Regions from separate parts of the Homo sapiens genome. Here regions 2, 3 and 4 are each linked to region 1. Evidence: promoter capture Hi-C in human tissues and cell types (Jung and others, 2019). All regions are on one chromosome and are shown on one strand. The core of a region is centred on a gene start or on the middle of the fragment in contact, and the rest is flanking DNA. Distances in the headings are between cores, read along the strand shown.

The links. The method cuts DNA at HindIII sites, captures the fragments that hold promoters and counts their contacts. A contact is called where the count stands out against the background at its distance.
Region 2: a contact is called between a fragment that was not itself captured here and the fragment with the promoter of JPH3 in region 1, in 4 of the 25 tissues and cell types used here (IMR-90 fibroblasts, lymphoblastoid cells, mesendoderm cells and 1 more).
Region 3: a contact is called between a fragment that was not itself captured here and the fragment with the promoter of JPH3 in region 1, in 4 of the 25 tissues and cell types used here (H1 embryonic stem cells, IMR-90 fibroblasts, mesenchymal stem cells and 1 more).
Region 4: a contact is called between a fragment that was not itself captured here and the fragment with the promoter of JPH3 in region 1, in 2 of the 25 tissues and cell types used here (H1 embryonic stem cells and bladder).

What each region holds. Positions count from the first base shown.
Region 1 is chr16:87,600,561-87,604,046 of GRCh38, reverse strand. It overlaps JPH3 (junctophilin 3), which reads right to left and starts at 1,539. Exons shown (of 5, transcript NM_020655.4): 1 at 519-1,539. The coding sequence starts at 900. LOC124903750 (a long non-coding RNA gene) reads left to right here and starts at 1,864. Exons shown (of 2, transcript XR_007065172.1): 1 at 1,864-2,035; 2 at 2,942-3,486. RefSeq lists an enhancer at 2,438-3,000. The HindIII fragment of the contact is 15,663 bases long and covers 1-3,486 here.
Region 2 is chr16:87,533,356-87,536,982 of GRCh38, reverse strand. No RefSeq gene overlaps it. Among named protein-coding and RNA genes, the nearest start is that of ZCCHC14-DT, 41 kb to the right of the region's middle. The HindIII fragment of the contact is 4,449 bases long and covers 1-3,536 here.
Region 3 is chr16:87,725,167-87,728,420 of GRCh38, reverse strand. It overlaps KLHDC4 (kelch domain containing 4), which reads left to right. Exons shown (of 12, transcript NM_017566.4): 7 at 1,497-1,656. Among named protein-coding and RNA genes, the nearest start is that of KLHDC4, 39 kb to the left of the region's middle. RefSeq lists enhancers at 3,005-3,094, 2,727-3,254. The HindIII fragment of the contact is 6,423 bases long and covers 1-3,254 here.
Region 4 is chr16:87,513,189-87,516,494 of GRCh38, reverse strand. It overlaps ZCCHC14-DT (ZCCHC14 divergent transcript), which reads right to left. Exons shown (of 4, transcript NR_110943.1): 4 at 865-979. Among named protein-coding and RNA genes, the nearest start is that of ZCCHC14-DT, 21 kb to the right of the region's middle. The HindIII fragment of the contact is 8,088 bases long and covers 1-3,306 here.

The sequences.
Region 1 (3,486 bases), core at 290-2,789:
CCCCGCCCCTAGCGCTCCCCATCACTCCCTTTCTCTCGGCTTGGGCAGATTCGGGGCTGAGGAAGGCCCTCGGGCGCCGCAGGAACACCAGAAGCGAAGCTGGGGCCTGATCGAAGGGCGGCCTCCAGGGTGGGGGGCAAAGCCAACAAGGGGAGGGGCCCTTCTCCCAGCCCCCTCTGCCCTTGCTGGGTTCCCCAGGGCCGCGGGCCCAGCCTGGCCCTTCCCGCAGGTCTCCGGCCTGCTGTGTCCGACGCACGGAGGCTCTGCTGGGCCCCGCCTGGCTCTGCCCCTGGAAAGCCCCCAACACCCTTCAGCTGGCACAGGGGCACTGTCCCCACCAGGCAGCGGGGCAACCTGTAGCCAGGAGCCGCCGTGGCTTCCAGGGAAGCCCGGGAAAGGCCCCTGGTGCCCACGGCCCAACCGGAGGACGCAGCTCAACTTCCCCAGAGATCCACAGAAGGGGCGCGATCGGAAGCACGTCCCTCCCGCCCCGGCCCGGCCCGGCCCGCGGCACCTACCTCCGTCCGAGTAGGTCTCGGTCCCGTAGCCGTCCTGCAGCCCGTTGCTCCAGGTCCCTTCGTATTTGGCCCCGTTGCCCGCGCACTCCCGCACCCCGTAGCGCCCCTTGAATCCGTGCGTCCACTCGCCCTTGTACACCCACTTCCCCTTGCTCTCCAGGCCGATGCCGTGGCGCTTGCCCTGCGCCCAGGTGCCCTGGTACGTGTTGCCGCTGGGCCAGGTGTAGACGCCCAGCACCTCGAAGCCGTGGCTCCACGAGCCGGTGTATTCGCCTTGGCCCTTGGGGCCGGTGCAGACGCCATGGCCGTGCGCCTTGCCGTCCTCCCAGCCTCCACAGTAGGACCCTCCGTCGTCAAAATTAAACCTGCCCCCACTGGACATGCATGTAACTCGGTTCCAGATCCCGCAAACGGTGAAAACGGACTCAGGCGATCGACACAGCAGAGTCGCGGCCGCCGGCGGCCCTGGGTCGCGAGCGTTTTCCGGAGGAGAGGAGGACGCGGCCCCGGAGCGCGGTCTCGGGCGCGGGCGGCCGCGGCGCCGGCTCCGGAGGAATTTCAGTCAATCGGGGGCGATTATTCCTTTTCGAGCTGCGCCGCGGAGCCTGACCAGCGTCTCGCGCTCCCGCTGGAGACAGGACCGGAGGGGAGGGGGAGGGGAGGAGGGAGGGAGGGGGCAGGAGCGGCGGCGGCGGGGCCCGCGGCTCCACCTCAGCGGCGAGAGGGCCCCTCGCCGGCAGCCCCGCGGGGAGGGCGCCGCGCCGAGGCCGGGCGGGGGGCAGCTCAGGCCCGGGCCGCGGCCCCCCACCTGCGGCTGCCGCGCTGCGGGCGCCCGAGGGCGGCGGCGGGGCCCGCGGGCGGCGGCGGCGGCACGGGCGGCGGCGCTGGCGGCTGCACCATATTGGGGGCCGCGGGCCGGGCGCGGGGCGGCGGCGGCAGCAGCAGCAGCAATGCGGCGGCTCGGGCGGCGGCGGCGGCGGTGGCGGCGGCGGCGTGCGCTCCGGGCCCGGCTCGCGCGCTCGGGCCGCGCGGCGCGCGCCCGCACCCCGCCCGCCCGCGCGCCCCCGCCCGCCCCCCGCCCCCCGCCCCCCGCCCCCGCCCCCGCCCCCGCCCCCGGAGCGCGGCGGTCCCAAGAGGGGCGCGGCCCAGCAGGCTAGGGCGCGGCGCGCGGGCGGGGACCCCGGGCGCCCCGCCCTCCGCGCCCCCAGCCCCGCGCTCCCCGCCCTGGGCTTCCCCGGGGCCCCCGCCGGACTGGAAACCGGGGTCCAGCCGGGGCGCCCCCGCCCCCTCCGGGAGTGGGATTTAAAGGCACAGGAACTGCGTCATGGGAAGGCGCGCAGCACTCAGGGCGCCCTCGGCCCCCTCCCGGGAGCTGGGCGGTGAGGCCTGCAGAGCAGGACCTGCCAGCTGAGCGCCCCTACCCTCGCCCCTGCCCGCCCCCGCGCCTCGCCCCTCCCGCCGGGCTCGGATCTGCCCCGCCTGCCCCTGACTCGACTGAGGCCCTTTGCAAACCACAGGTGGTTTTCTCCGGTGACAAACAATGCTTCCTTCTTCCTTCCGGGCAGCTTGGGTCCAAGAGTGGGGGGAGGGGGGCTTACCCCAGAAAACAGGGATTTGGCGAGTCCCTCTCCCCTATAAATTGAGTGAGAGTCGGGACACACGCGTGTATCTTGGAGCAAAGTCACCCGAATTCCGTGCGCCCTGCGCCCTGGCCAACAGGTAGCGCCCCCCCACTCGGGGAACGGTCGCGCTTTTGGGGAGCAAAGTGGGACCGCCATTCGGGCGTTTCTAGGTCTCTCTCCAGACATACTCTCACCCTCCGCCCCTCTTCCCACGCACAAGAGAGAGTCTGATTCTTGGATCCGAGCATCCTGGGATCCATTTAAAATGCATTTCCTGGACCATAAATCCTCAGGCAGAAGCCGGCGTCCCCAGCCCTCCTGAAATGCGTGCGGGAAATGGCAGCAGACCGGTGCAGTGGGCTGATGGGGGTGTGGAGGCTGCCCAGGGTCCTCGCTCCTGGGAGTGTGGGCCGGTGACCGCAGCGCGGTGAGCCAGAAACTGCAAGCCAGGCCTGGAGCCTGAGATTAGGACAGGAGAAGAGGTGCGATTCGGAGCCTCCAATCAGCCAGGAGCCCTGCTCAGATCTTCCCCTGTCCGAGAGAATCAGGATGGTCCCCACTCTTGGCTCACGGGGCTCTCAGAAAAATCAGCCCCTCCTGGGAGTCCCAGAGTTCAACCTCAGTCTCTTGCCTTGGGCACCAAAGCTCCCTCCCCAGAGTACCAGCAGCCAGGAGGACAGTCACCTCCTCATACACCCACTGTCAATGAGGAACATTTAGGGCGGTCGGCTTTGTTTTGTTTTGTGCAGTTACAGTGATTCATTGAGCTTTCTAGCGCTGTCTCCCTGTGCCCCTCTACAGAAGTTCTCTAAATGTCTGCGGTGGCATCATTGGACCAGCTACGTCTTGGACTTTATTGGAAGCTGCCAAATTGCTTTCCAAACACCTGGAGCAACTGACCTCTCACCCTTCAGTGTGCCTGGGTTTGTGGTTCTCTATTTCCTGGCCAGCACTGGTGTCCTCAAACTTCTGATTTTCTTTCCATTTATTTTACTTTGTTCATCTAAATGGGTATGAAATAATATCTCTGGGCTGTTTCATGTCCATGGAAATTTCTCTGTTGTAAATGTGTGGGCCAAAGGAACTGCACCTTGTCCTCAAGAGATTCGGGTCGAAACCTTGGCTCCGGGGCCCACCAGCAGTATGGCTTTGGGCAGTCACCTAATGTCCCTGAGCTCAGTTTTCTCATCTGTAAAATGGAGATGGCAGAGTTCCCATAGGGTTACCGTGGGAATTCAAAAGCTAGGCGCCCAGCACTCAGTAAGCGCTCGGGAAGTGGGAAGTAATGTTATTGGAAGCCAGCCCCCCAGGGAGGGTCATGGATTCCTGCATGGAGACACCCAGCC
Region 2 (3,627 bases), core at 63-2,562, 67 kb after region 1:
AAAACCACCAGATCTCGTGAGAACTCCCACTGTCACAAGAACAACACGCGGGAAACCACCCACATGATCCAATCACGTCCCACCCAGTCCCTCCCTCAACACTTGGGGATTAAATTCAAGATGAGATTTGGGTGAGGACACGGAGCCAAGCCATATCGGTATCCTTGAGGCAGGAGAATAGCGTCTGGAGGCAGGGAACCTAAGGCTCTTTCACGCTGATTTCCTAGAACTAAATTGAAAGGAGAGCCCTAACTTTCCACATCTAAATAACAAAAGGACCAGAGGCTACCCCTTTGCAAACCCCTACCTTTTCTGCCAGGCAGATGGGAAATTGAAAGTACCTCTGATTGATCGCTTTTTGCAACCAATCAGACGTTTGTATTGGAATGTAACTTTGTAACTTCACTTCAGCCTCTGATTGTGTGCTTTCCACAACCAATCAGATGTTTGCATAGGAGTGTGAGCTTTGTAACTTCACTTGACCAATCAGACCGATTGCAGGCCGCCACTTCATTTACATGGGGTGAACACCAAGTGGCCACTGGGAAACCTCTAGGGGGTATTTGGACCCGAGAAGATACAGTATCTGGGGCCCTTGAGCCCCTATGCCGGGGCTTACTTTCACCCTGTGGAGTGTACTTTCATTTTCAATAAATCTTTGCTCTTGTTGCTTCATTCCTTTCTTGATTTGTTTGCACATTTTGTCCATTTATTTGTTCAAGATGCCAAGAACCTGGACACTTTCCACCGGTAACATTCTCATCAGAGGGACATCAGAGCACATTCTCTCTCTCTCTCTCTCCCTCCCTCCCTCTATGCCACGTAAGGACCTAGGAAAAGGTGGCCAACTACAAGGCAGAAGAAAGCTTCATCAGAACCTGACCCTGTTGGCTCCCTGATCTTGGACTTCCGTCTCTGGAACTGTGAAGTCTAAACCACTCAGTCTATGGCATCTGTGTTATGGCAGCAGGAGCTGAGACATCCTGCATCGTGCAGATGAGGAAACAGAGGTGCAGAGAGGTGAAGCAGATTGGCCGAGGTAGAACAATGAGAAGGCAGGAGAGCTGGGATTTGAATTGAGGTAGTTTGGCTGCCGGTCCAGGCTTTTAATCATGTATTTGGGGCATGCTCCTTTAAAACTAGCAAACAAAAACTCCTAGAGGAATGTGTTTGAAGAAGTCTGGAAACGCCTGGGTTGGAAGGAAAGGGTGTGAGAGTCTATGGTAGACAGAATAGTGACCCCCAAAGATGTCCATATCTTAACCCCCAGAACTTGTGGATATCTACCTTGCCAAGAAAATTACCAAGTAATTTACCTTACTTGGCCGAAGAAACTTTGCAGATGTGGTTTACAAATCTTGAGCTCGGGGGGCTGGTTATCTGGGATTATCCTGGTGGCCCCAATGTCATCACAGGGATCCTGGTGACAGGGAGGCAGAAGTCAGCAAGGAGAGAAGATGCCATCCTGCTGGCTTGGAAGACAGAGGAGGGGCCATGAGCCAAGGAATGCAGGCAGCCTCTAGGAACTGCAGAAGGCAAGCAGACAGATTCTCCCCTGGAGTGTCCAGAAGGAGCAGGCCCGTTTCAGACTTCAGAACTCCTGAACTTTAAGATAATAAATGTGTCCTGTTTTAAGCCACTAGTTTGTGGTAATTTGTTGCAACAATGATAGGGGAAAAATGCAGATTTGGAGGGCAGATGACTAGGGGGATGATGTGGTTGGGGGGAAAGTGATTCTCGGTTTGGAGCTGAAGTAAGGTGGCCTGTATACAGGTTCCTTTGTAATGTGACTTAGCAAATCTGCAAAGGGCTTTGTGATATTGTGATATAATAAGAAATATATATTTGGTCTCCATCCTGGTTCCGGACACAGAGCTCCTAAAATCCTCAGAATTCCCTGAGCAATAAGGGTGGGAAGATCATCTTCGGTTATTCATAATGACAACTCTCTTCGTCCGTTTGTGTTGCCGTAAAGGAATACTTGAGGCTGGATAATTTATATAGAAAAGAGGTTTATTTGGCTCACAGTTCTGCAGGCTGTATGGGAAGCAGGGCACCAGCATCTGCATCTGGTGAGGACCTCGGGAAGCATCCACTCAGGGCAGAAGGTGAAAAGGAGCAGGTGTCATGTGGAGAGGAGAGAGGCAAGCGGGGGAAGCTGCCAGGCTTTTTAAACTATCAGTTCTCTCAGGAACTGCTAGAGCGAGAGCTCTCGAGAACTCACTCATTACTGCATGGACGGCACCAAGACATTCATGAGGCATCCACCCCCATGACCCAAACACCCCCCAACCAGGCTCCAGTCCCAACACTGGGGTCAAAGTTCAATATGAGATTTGGAGGGGACAAATATCCAAACCATTATTAGTAACTACATCTGAGTTTACGCTAATGAGGTGACTCTTGGAGGATGGGGGCTGGTTGCCAGAGGAGGGTTAGAACTTCAGTCCCCCTGCTCCCCAACCCCAACCTCCAGGGAGGGGAGAGGGGCTGGAGATCGACTTAATCCTCAATGGCTGATGATGTCATCAATCATACCTGTCTAATGAGGTCTCCAAAACACCTGTCAATGACTGGAAGGGGGTTTCAAAGAGCTTCTGGGTGGGGTTAGTGAACACATCAAGGTGCAGGGAGGGCAGTGCACCTGGAGAGGGCATGGAAGCTCTGCACCCCTCCTGCGCCTCCCCTACTTACCCCGTCTATTCCACCCCGTCCATCCCACCCTGTCCATGACTTGGCTGTTCCTGAGTCATATCCTTTGTAATAAACCAGTAAAAATAAGCAAAGTGTTTCCCTGAGTTCTGTAAGTCATTCTTGCCAACTTTTTGTTTGTTTGTTTGAGGCAAAGTCTTGCTCTGTCACCCAGGCTGGAGTGCAGTGGCTCCATCTTGGCTCACTGCAGCCTCTGCCTCCCAGGTTCAAGCAATTCTCCTGCCTCAGTCTCCTGAGTAGCTGGCACAACAGGCATGCACCACCATGCCTGGCTAATTTTTGTATTTTTAGTAGAGATGGGGTTTCACCATGTTGGCCAGGCTGATCTTAAACTCCTGACCTCATGTGATCTGCCTGTTTCAGCCTCTCAAAGTGCTGGAATTACAGGCATGAGCCACTGTGCCCAGTTTTGCCAATTATTGAATCTGAGGAGGGGGTCATGGGAACCCCTAAATCAGCTATAAATCATAGCTGATCAGTCTGGAGGGAGGCCCAGACTCTCAGTTGGCATCTGAAGTGGAGGCCGTCCTGTGGGACTGAGTCCCTAAATCATGGGATCTGATGCTAACTCCAGGTAGTGTTGGAACTGAGTTGAACTGTAAGACACCCAACTATTTCAGAAAGTTGGAAGATTTGTTGGTGTGGGGAACCCCTACGCTGCCATTTGTTGTCAGAAGCAAAATGTTGCATATAGAAGAAATATTTTTTCCTTTCTAAGCTTTGACAAATATATAGAATGTGGCAAAAGCAATGTTGTGTGACTTCAGAACCTCAGTCCCAAGAGAACATGCTGTTACCACTCTCAGCCTTGATGGAATGCTGTGAAGATATCCAGGCTGCCTATGGGAGGATGAGCGGCCATGTGGAGCAGAGGAGCTCTATCTGAGCAGAGCCAGCAACCAGCATGACCACCAG
Region 3 (3,254 bases), core at 124-2,623, 120 kb before region 1:
ATAGAGAAAATATTCTGTATTTATCTTACGTGCAAAGTAGAATCTTTGTACTAAAAATCTGCGACGTGAAATCTGAAAAAAACAGTGGTCTGTAGCAGTCTTTTAAAGATTACACGCTTCCACATTTCCACATTCCTCAGATTCTATCTATATTAAGAGCCATCGTCCTGCGAAGGATGTGGTCAGTCTGAGTTGCAGTCAGCAAGGTCAGGTTATCTTTTCTTTCTTCTTTTTTTGAGACAGATTCTCACTCGATCGCCCAGGCTGGAGTGCAGTGGCGTGATCAGCTCACTGTAGCCTCCACCTCGTAGGTTCAAACTATTCTCGTGCCTCAGCCTCCTGAGTAGCTGGGATTATAGGCACCCGCCCCCATGCTTGGCTAATTTTTTGTGTTTTTAGTAGAGACAAGGTTTCACCATATTGTCCAGGCTGTTTTTGAACTCCTCGCCTCAAGTGATCTACCTGCCTGAGACTCCCAAAGTGCTGGGATTGCAGGTGTGAGCCACTGTGCCCAGGCTGTTTATCTTAAGACCAGATGTGGCAGCTGGTGCTGGGTAAACGCCCTGTGACTTTTCCTGCTTCACACAAAACAGGAACAAACAGGAGAAAACCGGGCACTTGAGACTTGGGCTAGAGCTGCTTGCTCTTCCATGCTTTCCTTAAAAAATGAGTTTGGCTCTCCTTTTTGAGTAGCTGGAGAGCAGCCCCTTACGCTTTCACGATAATTGTGTCAAAGTTCCACATTAGGACAGGACTTTCTGGGTGCGCCTCCGAGTCTCCCCATGCCTCCAGCAAAGCTGCCACTTCCCTGTTCAGCCCAGTCTGCGTGCTGGGTCCGGCAGGCACTGAGCAGGGCAAGGCTGCGGGGCCTCCTTGCCGCGCTGTGATTTCGGGCACAGAGGGTCGGCTTCTGTGGTCTTCAGTTTCCCTGGAGCGCCCAGTCCCCTCGCTCACCCCTCCAGTCCACTGTGGGGCCTTACCACCCTTGCTGCCAGGCTGCTCACACCTCCGTTCTGATCATCCCTTTGGAGGCGCCATTCACTGCTGCCCTTACGGTTGCACACCTAATAACCTAATGGAATTGTCTCTGATTGTGTTAACTGTGTAAGAAAACGCAGTATGGCTTTCAGATTAAATTCCTCTGCCTCTGTGGGCCAGCATTATTTCCGGTTTTCAAATGCAAACTCATACGTGCTTGTGGTCCTTTCATATCAATTCAAACTTGAATTAAACAGGTGAAAATGTTGCCCTGTCTCCAGGTAGATTGCGTCAAGATTGAGTTTGAGGAGACCTGACTGGCGTCTCTGGCTCGTTGCAGGGAAAGCGGCCACGTTTCTGTGTTGATTGTTGTGTTGGTGTAAGAGCAGAGGAGAAAAATGGTTTGAGTTTTTCCCCAAACAGTAGGAAATTTACCTTTAATTTAAATCAGTTCAGTTTTTAATGTCAGGGCTTTTCCCAATGTTACGGACCCTGACAGCTGCTGTTCTTCTAACCAGGGATTACATCTACTACAACGACGTGTATGCCTTTAATCTGGACACCTTCACATGGAGCAAGCTGTCCCCGTCAGGGACGGGGCCCACACCCAGATCAGGCTGCCAGATGTCCGTCACTCCCCAGGGCGGCATCGTCGTCTATGGGGGCTACTCGAAACAGGTAAGGCGGGGGGTGGGGAAACAGGCAAGGCGTGGGACCGGGAAACAGGCGAGGCGCGGGGTGGGGAGACGGGCGAGGCGCGGGGTGGGGAGACGGGCGAGGCGCGGCGTGGGGAGACGGGCGAGGCGCGGCGTGGGGAGACGGGCGAGGCGCGGCGTGGGGAGACGGGCGAGGCGCGGCGTGGGGAGACGGGCGAGGCGCGGCGTGGGGAGACGGGCGAGGCGCGGCGTGGGGAGACGGGCGAGGCGCGGCGTGGGGAGACGGGCGAGGCGCGGGGTGGGGAGACGGGCGAGGCGCGGCGTGGGGAGACGGGCGAGGCGCGGCGTGGGGAGACGGGCGAGGCGCGGCGTGGGGAGACGGGCGAGGCGCGGCGTGGGGAGACGGGCGAGGCGCGGCGTGGGGAGACGGGCGAGGCGCGGCGTGGGGAGACGGGCGAGGCGCGGCGTGGGGAGACGGGCGAGGCGCGGCGTGGGGAGACGGGCGAGGCGCGGCGTGGGGAGACGGGCCGAGGCGCGGCGTGGGGAGACGGGCGAGGCGCGGCGTGGGGAGACGGGCGAGGCGCGGGGTGGGGAGACGGGTGAGTTGCGGCGTGGGAAAATAGGCGCTGCTGTCTGTGGTCTCTTCAGTTTCATGAACATTGAAGCTTTCACATGGGATTACTCATTGGTTGAATATAAACAGTTCTTTGTATAGAATTAGAAATAGAGATAGTGTTAATCGGCTCCTCTGTGAACTTGGTGCCGTGTTAGGGCCCTGTTCTGTTCTCCACACCCCTGTCAGCAGTGCAGTGTGAGCGATTCTGTGTTCTGAGGGTCTCCTTCCTGCACCATGGACGCTCACTACTGTGTAGTAGTCTCTGTGGAATGAAATTCTCCTCGCTCCTGTTAACGGGCTTGTTTCTTTGGTAACCTGAGAACAGTGCTGACAGGAATGTTCTCGCGCCCACCCCGGAGCCTCCTGCTCTTGGGGCGTGTGCTCTGCACGTGTACTGGCATCTGCTCGTGGAGTGTGTGCTCCTCACATGTGCCTGCTGCTCGTGGGGCGTGTGCTTCACAGAGGCGGCTGGCACAGGCTCTGTCCTCGGAACTCAAGTGTTCCTGTTGCTTCACTCCCATTTCACACTCTGCCAACCTTTACATTTCTGTGAATCTGAGAGGTATGAAGTAGTATCTCACTGTAGGGGTTTAAAAAATCCTTTGTATTTTGAAAATTTTCAACCACAGCTAACTTTTGAAAGAATTTTACGGGGAACACCTGTATACTCCTCCTAGATCCTGCTATTAAGATTTTGCTATGCTTAGGCTGGGCGCGGTGGCTCACGCCTGTAATCCCAGCACTTTGGGAGGCCGAGGCGGGCGGCTCACGAGGTCAAGAGATCGAGACCATCCTGGCTAACACTGTGAAACCCCGTCTCTACTAAAAATACAAAAAATTAGCCGGGCGTGGTGGCGGGCGCCTGTAGTCGGTGGTAATTTCCTATGCGTCATTGACCCACAGTGAGGGGACACATTTTTACAAGTGCGGGCACCGTGTGACTCACACCCTGATCCTGCCGTGCCCTTCCCACTCGGCCCCGCTGCCCACCCTCCCCTCCGCCC
Region 4 (3,306 bases), core at 684-3,183, 88 kb after region 1:
AGCAATGGAGCCGGAACCCAAACCCTGGTCATTCTGACTCCAGAACCGAGGCCCTTAACCATTATATTCTAGACACAAACTTCACCCTAAGGGTTTGCACCTTTTTGAGAATTTAACGCCATGTTGCAAGAGGGCACCCAAGGAAAATGTCACCCCTTTGCTGGCCAGGCAGGGACGCTGAGATGCTGACCACAGAGAGCCAGCCTCACAGCACAGCCTAAACAAAGGCCCAGGGCTGCAGGTGAGGACCTCCAAGTCTCTCTGGTCCTGAAAAAGCAACGTGTCTTGTGAGCCAATAAGGAACCCCTTGGATGCCAGCCGGGCTGACGTAGCTCAGGGCATCTCCGAGGCACTGTCAGCTGAGGCAGGACAAAGGAAGGGGATGTTCCCATGGCACCACGCTATGATGCCTTGACAAGGCCCCCTGCACCCTGTTTTGTGGTTCATTCTTATTTTGCTGAAAGGAGCTCTTCCGCTTCCTCCGAGATAAACATTCCTAACATCATTTCTTCTGAGCCGGCCAGCCAAGAGAACAGCTGGGAGCTCTCCGAGCACGGGGAGAGCGTGTTCATTTTCTGGAACTCAGCTGAGAATCTTTTCTCCAGGAGACCCCAATAAGCCATTGCAAATAAACAAAATGAAGTTGCTGGGGAAACTGGCGGCCAGGAAGCTAGAGCTGGTGTAGCCCTGGGGAGAAGAATGGAGTCAGCCCCCAACCCTGGGGTTGCTGGTGCTGGGTGCTGCAGTTGGCGGGCGCTGGGCTCCTCTGGATGCCAGGCTCTGCATGTCCAGAACTGCAATCCTGCATGTCCACGAGGCTGCCCCATTGCACAGATGAGGAAGTTGAGGCTCAGAGAAGTGAAGCGAGGGGTCCCACGGCTGGAATCCAGCCTGAGCGTGGCCTTACAGCTTTCCCACTCTTAAAACTCTCCCAGGTCACAGACTCCTTAAGAATCTGGTGAAAGTTACAGACCCTCTGCTTAAAAAAAAAAAAAAAAAAAAAAAAGTAATCCTGAAGTGCTGAGATTGTAGGTGTGAGCTGCCATGCCTGGCCCCAATGAAAAAACATTTAAAGCTTCATTAATTAAGACCTGCCTGTCACCTTCCACCACGACTGTGAGGCCTCCCTAGCCATGTGGAACTCTCCAGCTCCAAGCAAGGCCTAGTTTAAATGCCACCTTTTCTGTGAAGCCCTATTGGACTTTCTCAGGCTCATTTTCCCTTTGGACTTCTAGAGCATCTTGTAGACAATGGCAATTATCAAGGCCTGGATATATACATTATATAATTGTTATGTAATCATTAATGTGGCACAGAACAACAAATACGGATCTTGCAGACAGAAAAAAAATTGTGGTCATCCTCTTTATGAACTTTCTTGATTGATTTCATAAAACATCTATAATCATTGTTTAATCTGAGCTTTTTTTTTTTATTTTTTGAGACGGAGTTTTGCTCTCGTTGTGCAGGTTGGAGTGCAATGGCATGATCTCAGCTCACTGCAACCTCTGCCTCCCGGGTTCAAGCGATTCTCCTGCCTCAGTCTCCCGAGTAGCTGGCATTACAGGCGCACACTGCCACACCTGGCTAATTTTTGTATTTTTAGTAGAGATGCGGTTTCACCATGTTGGCCAGGCTGGTCCTGAACTCCTGACCTCAAGTGATCTGCCTGCCTTGGCCTCCCAAAGTGCTGGGATTACAGGCATGAGTCACCACGCCCGGCCTGGTCTGGGTTTTTGGATAGCTCATAGACATGAATTCTTCAGGGCAGGAGTCTCCAAAGTGTTTAGATCATAGATCCTAATGGGCAAAACCTTTCCCGCAGGTGCCCACCATATACGTGTATCTTAAAACTTAAGAATTATATATATGCATTGCTGCTCTCATATTTTATGTATAATCATAAAACTCCTAACAAAATGGACTTTTTTTTTGAGATGGAGTCTTGCTGTGTTGCCCAGGCTGGAGTACAGTGGTGTGATCTTGGCTCACTGCAACCTGCACCTCCCAGATTCAAGATTCTCCTGCCTTAGCCCCCTGAGTAGCTGGGATTACAGGTGCACACCACCATACCTGGCCAATTTTTGTATTTTTAGTAGAGACGGGGTTTAACCATGTTGGCCAGGCTGGTCTTGAACTCCTGACCTCAGGTGATCCACCCGCCTCGGCATCCCAAAGTGCTGGGATTACAGGCGTGAGCCACCACGCCCAGCCAAAATGGAAATTTCTAAATGCCAAGTAAAAGATTAAACAAACAATATTCTTTTTAATGTCTTGCTAATTATGATGGTTTCCATTACATCTCAAGGCAAAATATGCATTTGGGGTGAGGATTATTGTCAACAATGATGGATTTTCTAATCTGTACTTCGACTAGACTTCTGGATAATTAGGGTTCGTGTGACTGTCCTCTGCGGGCTGACTGGCTGGCTGCCTTTGTTTTTACCTTGGGATATGTCTGACCAAGAGCACAGGCCAGGAATAAGACAGCTGCTCTGATGCGTTCTCACTCTTTACTCTGCTTGGCTTGTTAGTGTTTCCTTCATTCCACAGTTCCTTTGTATGAATCTTTTTAAGGCATACACCGAATTTAGTTAGAACCAGACAAGATAGGTACCAGCAGCTACAGATCCACTCTGGTAAGCCAATACTTCACCAACGTATGTTGCCATATTTTAAGATGTAACAGACAGGTGTGGTGGCTCACGCCTGTAATCCCAGCACTTTAGGAGGCCAAGGTGGGCAGATTGCTGGAGCCCAGGAGTTCAAGACCAGCCTGGGCCACACAGTGAGGCCCCATCTCTACAAAAAATATAAAAATTAGCCAGGTGTGTTGGCGCATGCCTCTGGTCCCAGCTACTTGGGAGGCTGAGGCAGGAGGATTGTTTGAGCCCAGGATGCAGAGGTCGCAGTGAGCTGAGATCGCACCACCGCACTCCAGCCTGGATTGACAGACCAAGACCCTGTCTCACTTAAAAAAAAAAAAAGAGCTAACAAACTGTCAGATGGGACTTCACCGTGAAACTCCCATTCATCCTGCAAGGTTCCCTTGGGTGACAGCTGAGAAGCCACCACCGCAGTGCCACCAAGCCTGAGGGGTGTCCCTGCCTGTGACCTCAGGTCCCCCTTCTGCCTCTTTAGTCCTCCATTCCTCATTCCACCAATGCCCAATATTAAATTCTCTCTGCTAAACTAACCAGTGCGTTTTCTGTTTTTCTGACTAGACTGTCATGGGTACAGAGAGCCAGTGTCAGCTCAGAGTCAATATTCATAAAACCTGATTTCTTGCTTAATCTTAAGCAATAA